Regions from separate parts of the Homo sapiens genome. Here all the other regions are linked to region 3. Evidence: promoter capture Hi-C in 16 types of primary human blood cells and fetal thymus (Javierre and others, 2016). All regions are on one chromosome and are shown on one strand. The core of a region is centred on a gene start or on the middle of the fragment in contact, and the rest is flanking DNA. Distances in the headings are between cores, read along the strand shown. Region 1 has its middle 28 kb from the start of NSFL1C. Region 2 overlaps NSFL1C (NSFL1 cofactor). Region 3 holds the start of RAD21L1 (RAD21 cohesin complex component like 1).

Evidence for each region. The method cuts DNA at HindIII sites, captures the fragments that hold promoters and counts their contacts. A CHiCAGO score of 5 or more calls a contact.
Region 1: a contact is called between a fragment that was not itself captured here and the fragment with the promoter of RAD21L1 in region 3, in 7 of 17 cell types (naive CD4 T cells, activated CD4 T cells, non-activated CD4 T cells and 4 more). The highest score is 11.1, in naive CD4 T cells.
Region 2: a fragment that was not itself captured here is called in contact with the fragment with the promoter of RAD21L1 in region 3 in 1 of 17 cell types (total CD4 T cells); the score reaches 5.0 in total CD4 T cells.

Annotation. Positions count from the first base shown.
Region 1 is chr20:1,437,164-1,439,863 of GRCh38, forward strand. No RefSeq gene overlaps it. Among named protein-coding and RNA genes, the nearest start is that of NSFL1C, 28 kb to the right of the region's middle. The HindIII fragment of the contact is 1,926 bases long and covers 422-2,347 here.
Region 2 is chr20:1,455,459-1,458,158 of GRCh38, forward strand. All of the region lies in intron 3 of NSFL1C (NSFL1 cofactor), which reads right to left. Among named protein-coding and RNA genes, the nearest start is that of NSFL1C, 10 kb to the right of the region's middle. The HindIII fragment of the contact is 4,620 bases long and covers 1-2,700 here.
Region 3 is chr20:1,224,698-1,227,397 of GRCh38, forward strand. It overlaps RAD21L1 (RAD21 cohesin complex component like 1), which reads left to right and starts at 1,347. Exons shown (of 14, transcript NM_001384355.1): 1 at 1,347-1,443. RefSeq lists a silencer at 1,559-1,608. The HindIII fragment of the contact is 7,037 bases long and covers 1-2,700 here.

The DNA of each region.
Region 1 (2,700 bases), core at 135-2,634, 210 kb after region 3:
CCAGGCTGGCCAACATGGTGAAACCCCCTCTCTATTAAAAATACAAAAATTAGCTGGGCGTGGTGGTGCGTGCTTGTAATCTTAGCTACTTGGGAGGCTGAGGCAGAAGAATCTCTTGAGTCCAGGAGGCAGAGGTTGCAGTGAGCCAAGATCGCACCACTGCCCTCCAGCCTGTGCAACAGAGTGAGACTCTGTCTCAAACAACAACAACAACAACAACAAAACAACAACAACAACAACTGGTATTAATGCAAACAAAACCACACTGTGAATCCACTGCTCACTTACCTGACAGGCAAATGCTCACAGCGCACCCTGCTGGCGAATCTGTGGGAAAACAGGCTCTCAAGTCCACTGCGGGTGCAAGAGTAAATAGCACTTACACATCTGGGAATTTACTCTTTACACATTTGCATATACAAGCTTTGCCACTGTAGTACTGTTTGTAACAGCAAAACCCAGGAGACACCCACATGTCCTTCACAACAAATGACCTCCAAAATCTACTGTTAAATGGAAAAAGATGTAGATAGTGGTGGGCAGGCTGACACACTTGTGAATAAGAATCGCTGCAGATCTATTGGATCTAAGATGCCAGGAGTGACAAAGCCACCATTAATTTATATGCCACTAAGAAAGACCATTGCTGATTAAATTGGCACAATGCTTAGAATTTTATATTTGAGAACTCATTTAGACTTATTTAGACATGAATTTATATCATATCAACTTTGGGCACAAATAAAAAGGAAACATATAGACAAAATAAATATGTTAAGGTATTAGGTGACACCAGGACTGCCTTCTTGTATGATGCATTCTGATTTCAGAGTTGCTAAAATATGGGAAACAATGGATGCCTCAGAATAGACAGAGAGTATCGGCTTGTATTTAGGAACTCTGCAAGGACAACTAAGAAACTTATAGTGGGGAGGGAGGGAGGGAGGGGAAATTGGGCAAATGGCATGGATAAGAAGGGAGGTATCTAAGACATTTTTTGGCACCATGTAAATATATTACCTATTTAAAAGTAATTTTTTTTAAAAAGGCCATTCCCAGGTCATAGTCAAGATTTTGAACTTCATTTAGAAGTACAGCTTCTTCCCTCTCTCAGGGGCAGGGTCGCAGGGGACATGGGGAAGGGCCTGCTGGTTTCCTGTGGCCGGTGCAGATGCTCTGGGCTTCCCTCTAGGGTGCACTTGTTGGTTCTTCAGATCTTGGTTCACTTCCCTTGAGGAAGCCAATAGATTCTCTAGCTGGCTGCTTGTAACTCCTCCCTCAGTCCTGCAACCCAAGGTCTATCTTGCACTAAGGTCCCTCTGTCCTTCCAGAGCAAGACCCAGGACAGTCCAGTCTGGCTGCCTCATGGGTCCACATTTGGCTGATGGGACTTATAGCACAAGCTCCTTCACACCAAGTTCTCTTTGCTTCATCAGCCTCTTGCTTTCAAGATTGCTCAGGTGTGAGGTGGGTGCCTGGCACCTTCGTCATCTCCAAGCTCTTGAGTGGTCTCCTTGAGACACCAATCCCTAGGCTGAGGGAGAAGGAAAGCTCCCCCTTCCCCTGTGCACTCAAAGCCCTCCAGTAACTTCCTTTAAAGAAAACTCTTCTCAGAGCTCCAACTTGAACCTTTAACGTCTTTGGTGTGGGAAAGAGGCAAGGAGACACACAGCTAGTTTTTGACCATGTCTTTGAAAGCCCTGTGTGTGGACAGCAATTCATCCTGGGAGGTGGAGTAGCTAGGCCCCCTATTGCCTTGGGAACCCAGCCAAATTGGGATGGAAATAATTCCATCTTAGTATATTGTCACATGGATGATCAAACTAAGGAACCTGCCGAGGCCACACAGCTAGTACCCAGCAGGCTGACTCCTAAGCCTGAGCTTTTCCTGCTGCAGGTGGTTCACCCAGAGCTGACTTAAAATAAGCTCATGGTACAGAGGCCAGGCCAGGAGGATGGAGTTAGATGGCCCTTGGTTCAAACTCAGTTGTCATTTATTAGTAGTGTGTCCTTGACTGCTTTCTCCTCTCTGATTCTCCGATCATTTAACCAATAGACGTTTAATGGCCAGGTTGTCTACCACGTGCAAGGCACTCAATTTCATTCTCTGTAAAGATGTGAATAATAAAAGCACCTGTTTCACAGGAGTGTTGAGAATTAATGAGATCATGCTCAAGTGTTTGACAGCGCCCGGCACATGGTAAGGGCTACACAGCAGCACCTATTGTCATTCATAAAGTTCCTCCTATGCGTCAAGGGCTTCACAGACATCTTTAATCCCCATAGTCTAAGAGGTAGGAACTACCATTATCCCTGTTTTCTGAATGAGGAAGCCAAGGCTCAGAGAAGCTTAGGTGACTTGTCTAAGGTCATGCCTGGTATAAGATGGAACCTAAGTTCAAAGCCTGCCCCAAGCCTCCACATGCCCTCTGAGTTTGTCTCTTGAGGAAGGACAACTTTTTTGCCTTTTCGTCAGAGAACCAACCTTTAATCACCCTTCACAACCCAGTTCAAGGGTGTCCGCTTCCGTTTTCCCTGTCCCTCCCTGCCCGACCCAATCGTCCCTCCTGCCACTGCCTTTGTGCCTGCCTTTTTCACAGCAGTAGAGCCTCGGGGTCAAGGGCTGTGGCTCTGCGTTCAGGTAGTTGGGGATTCAAATGCCTCTTACTCCGTGTGTGGCTTCAGGCAAGTCCCATCACC
Region 2 (2,700 bases), core at 25-2,524, 230 kb after region 3:
TTCAGGAGAGAGTCTCAGCTGGGACTATCAATCTGGTGGCCAGGCTCCTCTCCAGGAGACAGTGACTACAGTCATAGTCAGAAGTAGCTACCACTAGTGACTTGGGGTTAATGGTGGCACTGGCATGGTTAGTACAAGCAGCTAGGCTCCAGTCTTGGCTCTGCCACTGTATGTCCTGGGTAAGCCAGTGCACTACTCTGTGACTCACTTTCCTTGTCTTTGAAACGGGAGGGAAGGACCACATGCCCTACCTACCTGCTCCTTAAGTCAGAGCCGTGAGGTTCAAATCAGCAGATGTATGCAAAAGAACAAGCACAGAGTAATGCACACAGGTAAGGTGGTGTGACACAGCACCAGGAGCTCCCCCAAGCCTCACCTCACCTTGCCATTCATGTGACACACACTGTGGCCCCTGAGGAAAGGGTACTGGAGGTCAGAGAAGCTCCAATCTCAAATACAAGCCCCAAGACACCCACACTGGGCTTTGCAATAGGCCAGGCATGGCTTGAGATAATAAAGTTAGTACTTTTTTATATGGGCCTGAAAACCAGTTGTCATGCAGCCTGGCCCACTGCCTCCTTATTACTCCTATTCAGAGCTAAGTCAACAGCTTGTCCCCAAGCAAGAAAAATTGAGAACCTATAAAAATTAGTCTCAGCCCTCTATTTCCTGACATTCACCAGGGAATGAGAGGCAAAGCCACAGGCCCCGACAAGGACAACAGTACCAGTGTCCTTTCAGGTCTGAAATGCTGAGGGGTCAAGGAAGTAAGCGGAATGTGAAATAAAGGAAGGTCACTGCCTGGAGGACGTGACTGGGTGGGAGGAGAACGAGAAAGACATTTAGGAGCTGGGCATTCACGTACTTGATGACACTGCCTTTCACTCAGGAGTGTGAAACCCCAAAATTAACATATATTTTTATATCCAGAAGTATCTAAAAGGAAGGTTTTGAGTCGGTGTGAAGGTCACAATAGGAATGAAAATAGAGAATAGAACACATGTAATTTCTCAGCCCACTTCCCCAAAGACTGACCATGATGAGATAACTGCATTCCCGAAATAGTTATTATACAATTTTCCTTAGGAATGTCTGACAGACCGAGGCAGATCCTGTGGAGAACCAAAACCCATGAAATGAGGCTGGCGTTCATTCTTGTTCATTCCAGGTAGATGAAGTTCTGCTAAATGGACTATAAAGTCTTTATTAAGGGATCTCAAAGCCCTGGCTTCAGAACTGGGAGCCTGTGATCAAGAGCCTTAAAAATATGCATGCCCTTGACCTGGTATTTCCATTTTTAAAAACTATCCTAAAAAAAATCTGAAATGTGGTTAATTAATCCACAAAAATGTTCATAGCACTGATATTTACAGTAGTAAAACATTGAAAAAAATCTAAATGTCAGGCATCCCATATAATGGATTATTATTATAGCATATGAAAAGGCATATGAAGGATTTTAAGGACATGGGGAAACGTCTGAGATGTAGCATTGATCCAGCAAAACCATATTTATATACAGAACAAAGACTGGATGGAAATATGCCAGAATATCAACCGTAGTTACCAAAGGGTAGATGAGTTTAAGACTTTTTCATTATACTAGTCTGTAGTTTCCATAATGGATATTTTTATTATAATGTTCTAAAGGTTAAAAACAAATAGTTGATGGGTACATGTCTATTGGGGGAAATATACACTTATAAGCCTATTATTCTGTTTTTTACATGATGTTTTTTAAATTAAAAAGAAAAAGCTGGAAAGAAATATACCAAAAAATGGATACCTGGTTACGTATGGACTGTAATATAATGAATAACTTTTTCTTTCTTTTCCTTATTTTTTAAAATTGTAAATTGGCAATTTATAATTGTATATACTTATGGTGTACAAAGTGATGTTATGCTTTAACAATATGAAGTGGATTAAATCAAGCTAGTTAGCATATTCATCACCTCAAATACTCAAAATTTTTGTGGTGAGAACACTTGAAATTAACACTTGGCAATTTTGAAATGTACAATGCTGTTTTATTAACTATATTCATCATGCTGTGCAAGAGATCTAAAAAAGAAAAAGCCCCAAACCATATTCCTCCTGTCTTAAGATTTTATACCCTTTGACCACCATCTCCCCATTATGCCCTCACTTCTGCCTCTGTAACCACACTCTGTCGATTGTTCTAGATTGGAATTGTTCTAGATTCCACACGAGAGCATGCTTTATTTGTGTTTCTGTGCCTGGCTTATTTTAGTTAGCATAATGTTCTCTATCCATGTTGTTGAAAATGACAATTTCCTTCTTTTTAAAGACTGAGTAGTATTCCTACTGTGTATATACACCACATTTGCTTTATCCATTCATCTGCTGGTAAGACACTTATGCTGATCCATAACTTCGCTACTGTGAAGAGCACCGCAATGAGCACGGGAACGTAGACACCTCTTTACAAACTGATTTCAAATCTTTTTAGTCAATACCAAAAAGTGGGACTGCTAGATCTTTTCCTTGTTTCCCTCCCCTAATATTCCTCAATAAATACATTAAGTAACGGAACAGGGGTCACTTCTAAGCTACAAGGAGTAGAAGAGACTTCCTAAGATATAACCCACACAGACCAGCCCACAGTAGTAATGGCTAACAATAACCAAACATGTTTACCAGGTCCTGTTCTAGGTGATTTACACATTACCCTGGACT
Region 3 (2,700 bases), core at 97-2,596:
CTCTTGAATGGTTGCCGTGACATCATTTCCTGAGGTCGGAAATTGGGAGCTAAACTTCAATTTGAATTCAATTTGAATCCTGTCTCTACAATTCCCAACCACGTGACCCTAGACAGGTTGCTATTTTTTCTCCAGCCCTTTCCTTATTCAAAAGGGGAAAACCAGTAACTACTTTTGTGAGATTGTTTGAAGAGTCAATGAGACAACCCATGAAAATGCCCAGCCAGGAGCCTGAACCTTATCAATAACCTTATATTGGATGCCATTGCCGCTCCAAGATTTATTAGTATTTACTATCAAACTCAAGAGAGGAAACCAGCCTTGCATCCTGATGCTCTTGCAGGATTTTTCTCAGGTTCTAGCACTTGGCCTTGACTACTGAGAACTGTGATATTCCAGGCTGGAAAATATTTGCTGTCCCCAAAGGGCAGGTCAATGTGAATAATCTTTTTAATAATAACAATAATAATAATAGCTAATATTTGTAGAGCACTTATTATTGCTTGGCTCTTTTCATGGTTCATTTTATTTATTTCTTACAATATCCTACGGCGCGAGTACTTTTATTATTTTCACTTTACAGATGAGAAAATCTGAGGTTCAAGGGATTAAAGAATTTCTCCAGTGACCTCCAGCTATAAGTGGAAGAGAAGAGACTGGACTGCATCATAGGGATGTTCAGAGATCAGCCAGAAAGATCACCTTTCACAACAGGACTATGGGGCCCAGGCCCCATCCCTGTCATGCCCCTGCTCAGGTGTCTCAGGTCCGAGCGCCAGGACAAAGCCGGAGACTGCGCACTAGGACCGGTGCGCCTTGCTCACTGTCTGACTCTATCCCTCCTGCCCCGTCCACTGTCCCCACCAACGCCCTGCGCCCTCGTCCCTCTCAGTCCCGGTCCTCTCCACTCTAGCGCACTGCCCTACTCTGTCCGTACCCCCAGCCGCCGCCGCCGCCGCCGCGCCCAGTCCCTCGGTCGCTGGCCCGCCCTTCCCCGCCCCCTGCCCCCGGTCCCTCAGCCACTGCCCCGCCCCGCCCGTCCATACCCCTCCACGCCCCTCCCCATGTCCTGCCCGTCCCTCTCCATCCCCTGCACGCCCCGCCCCTCGCCCACTGCCCCGCCCCATCCCCTGTCAGTCCCGTCCATCGCCCACTGCCCCGCCCCGTCTCCTGCACGCCCCGCCCCGTCCCCTGCACGCCCCGCCCTCGCCCACTGCCCCGCCCCGTCCCCTGCACGCCCCGCCCCTCGCCCACTGCTCCGCCCCGTCCCCTGCACGCCCCGCCCTCGCCCACTGCCCCGCCTTCTCCACGCCCCGCCCCTCCCCGCCCCGCGCCTGCCGCGCATTGCAGACGCCCAGCGGCGCCAAGAACCCGGCCAAGCTGACTTGGCGACTCCTCGCAGCCCCTGCTCTGGCACGCCACACCTCAGACGAGGCTTTGAAAGTAGGGCGCAGCCTGAGAGGCCGGCCGGACCCCGAGTGCTGTAGGCGGGCTGGGAGATGGGGGCCGCCGCCACCCACATTCCCACACGCACCCGGCGCCGGCGCCTCACGCCGTGTTAGCTCGCGGCGCCAAGCCCGGAGGGTCCCGCCTGAGGAAGAAAGGTCGTCGCCCGCAGCCCAGCTGGGGCTGGAGGCGCGACCCGGGGTCTCCTCGCCCGCACGCGGAAGAAAATGGGCGCTGTGGCCTCAGTTTCCCTCTGTGAGCACCCGGCCCGGAACTCTGAGGAGTCGTCTGTGGAGGAGCCTTTGGCGTCCCCCTGCCCCTGAGCGTGGCCGTCAGCTCTTCCCAGCCCCTGCACTTTGCTTTCCCCTCCCTCACGCCCGGAAGGGTCTCGCCCTGCCCGGCTCAGCCCTCTCTCCCCACGCCCCTCTCCCAGGGTCCCCGCCCGGTCCCCTTCCGACCCCTTCCTCCCTCCCTTCGCTCCCTCCCCGCCACCGCCGCCACCCTGCCCTTTGCGGGCCGGTTTCCACGGAGTGGCCCCATCCCGGTGGCTTCACGTTGCACGAAGTCAGTTCAATCTGGAGACTGAAAAAGCCTCCGGGACGTGGGGCGGGAGGGTGCGGGGGGAGTTTGTGTGCGTATTTTGTGGGGAGGGGAAAAAGGTTAGGTAATATGTGCTCGGGAAAATCAATGTCTCAGGAATAGCAAATCTCAGGGTTTGGGTTTTTTCTTTGTTTGTTTTCTCTTTTAAGAAGTCCATCACTTAAAAAGTACATTTGATTTTTTTGAGACGGAGTCGCCCTCTGTCGCCCAGGCTGGAGTGCAGTAGGGCGATCGCGGCTCATTGCAGCCTCCGTCTCCCGGGTTCGAGCGATTCTCCTGCCTCAGCCTCCCAAGTAGCTGGGATTACAGACGCCCGCCACCGTGCCTGGCTACTTTTTGTACTTTTAGTAGAGACGGGGTTTCACCATGTTGGCCAGGCTGGTCTCCAGTTCCTGGCATCAAAGTGATCCGCCCGCCTCAGCCTCCCACAGTGCTGGGATTACAGGCGTGAGCCACTGCGCCAGGCCAAAAAGTACATTTTAAAAGTACCTCACACCACTGGGAGCCATTTAAAAAGATAAATAGGAATTTATTCCGAGAGAGCGAAACACACAGACTAAAAAGGAAAGTAGTGGAACCAGCGCAAGGTACAAGCCATATGCATTAAAATCTCCAGCTGCCCCGTAGGGGAACATGGTTTGGCGGATTGCGTCA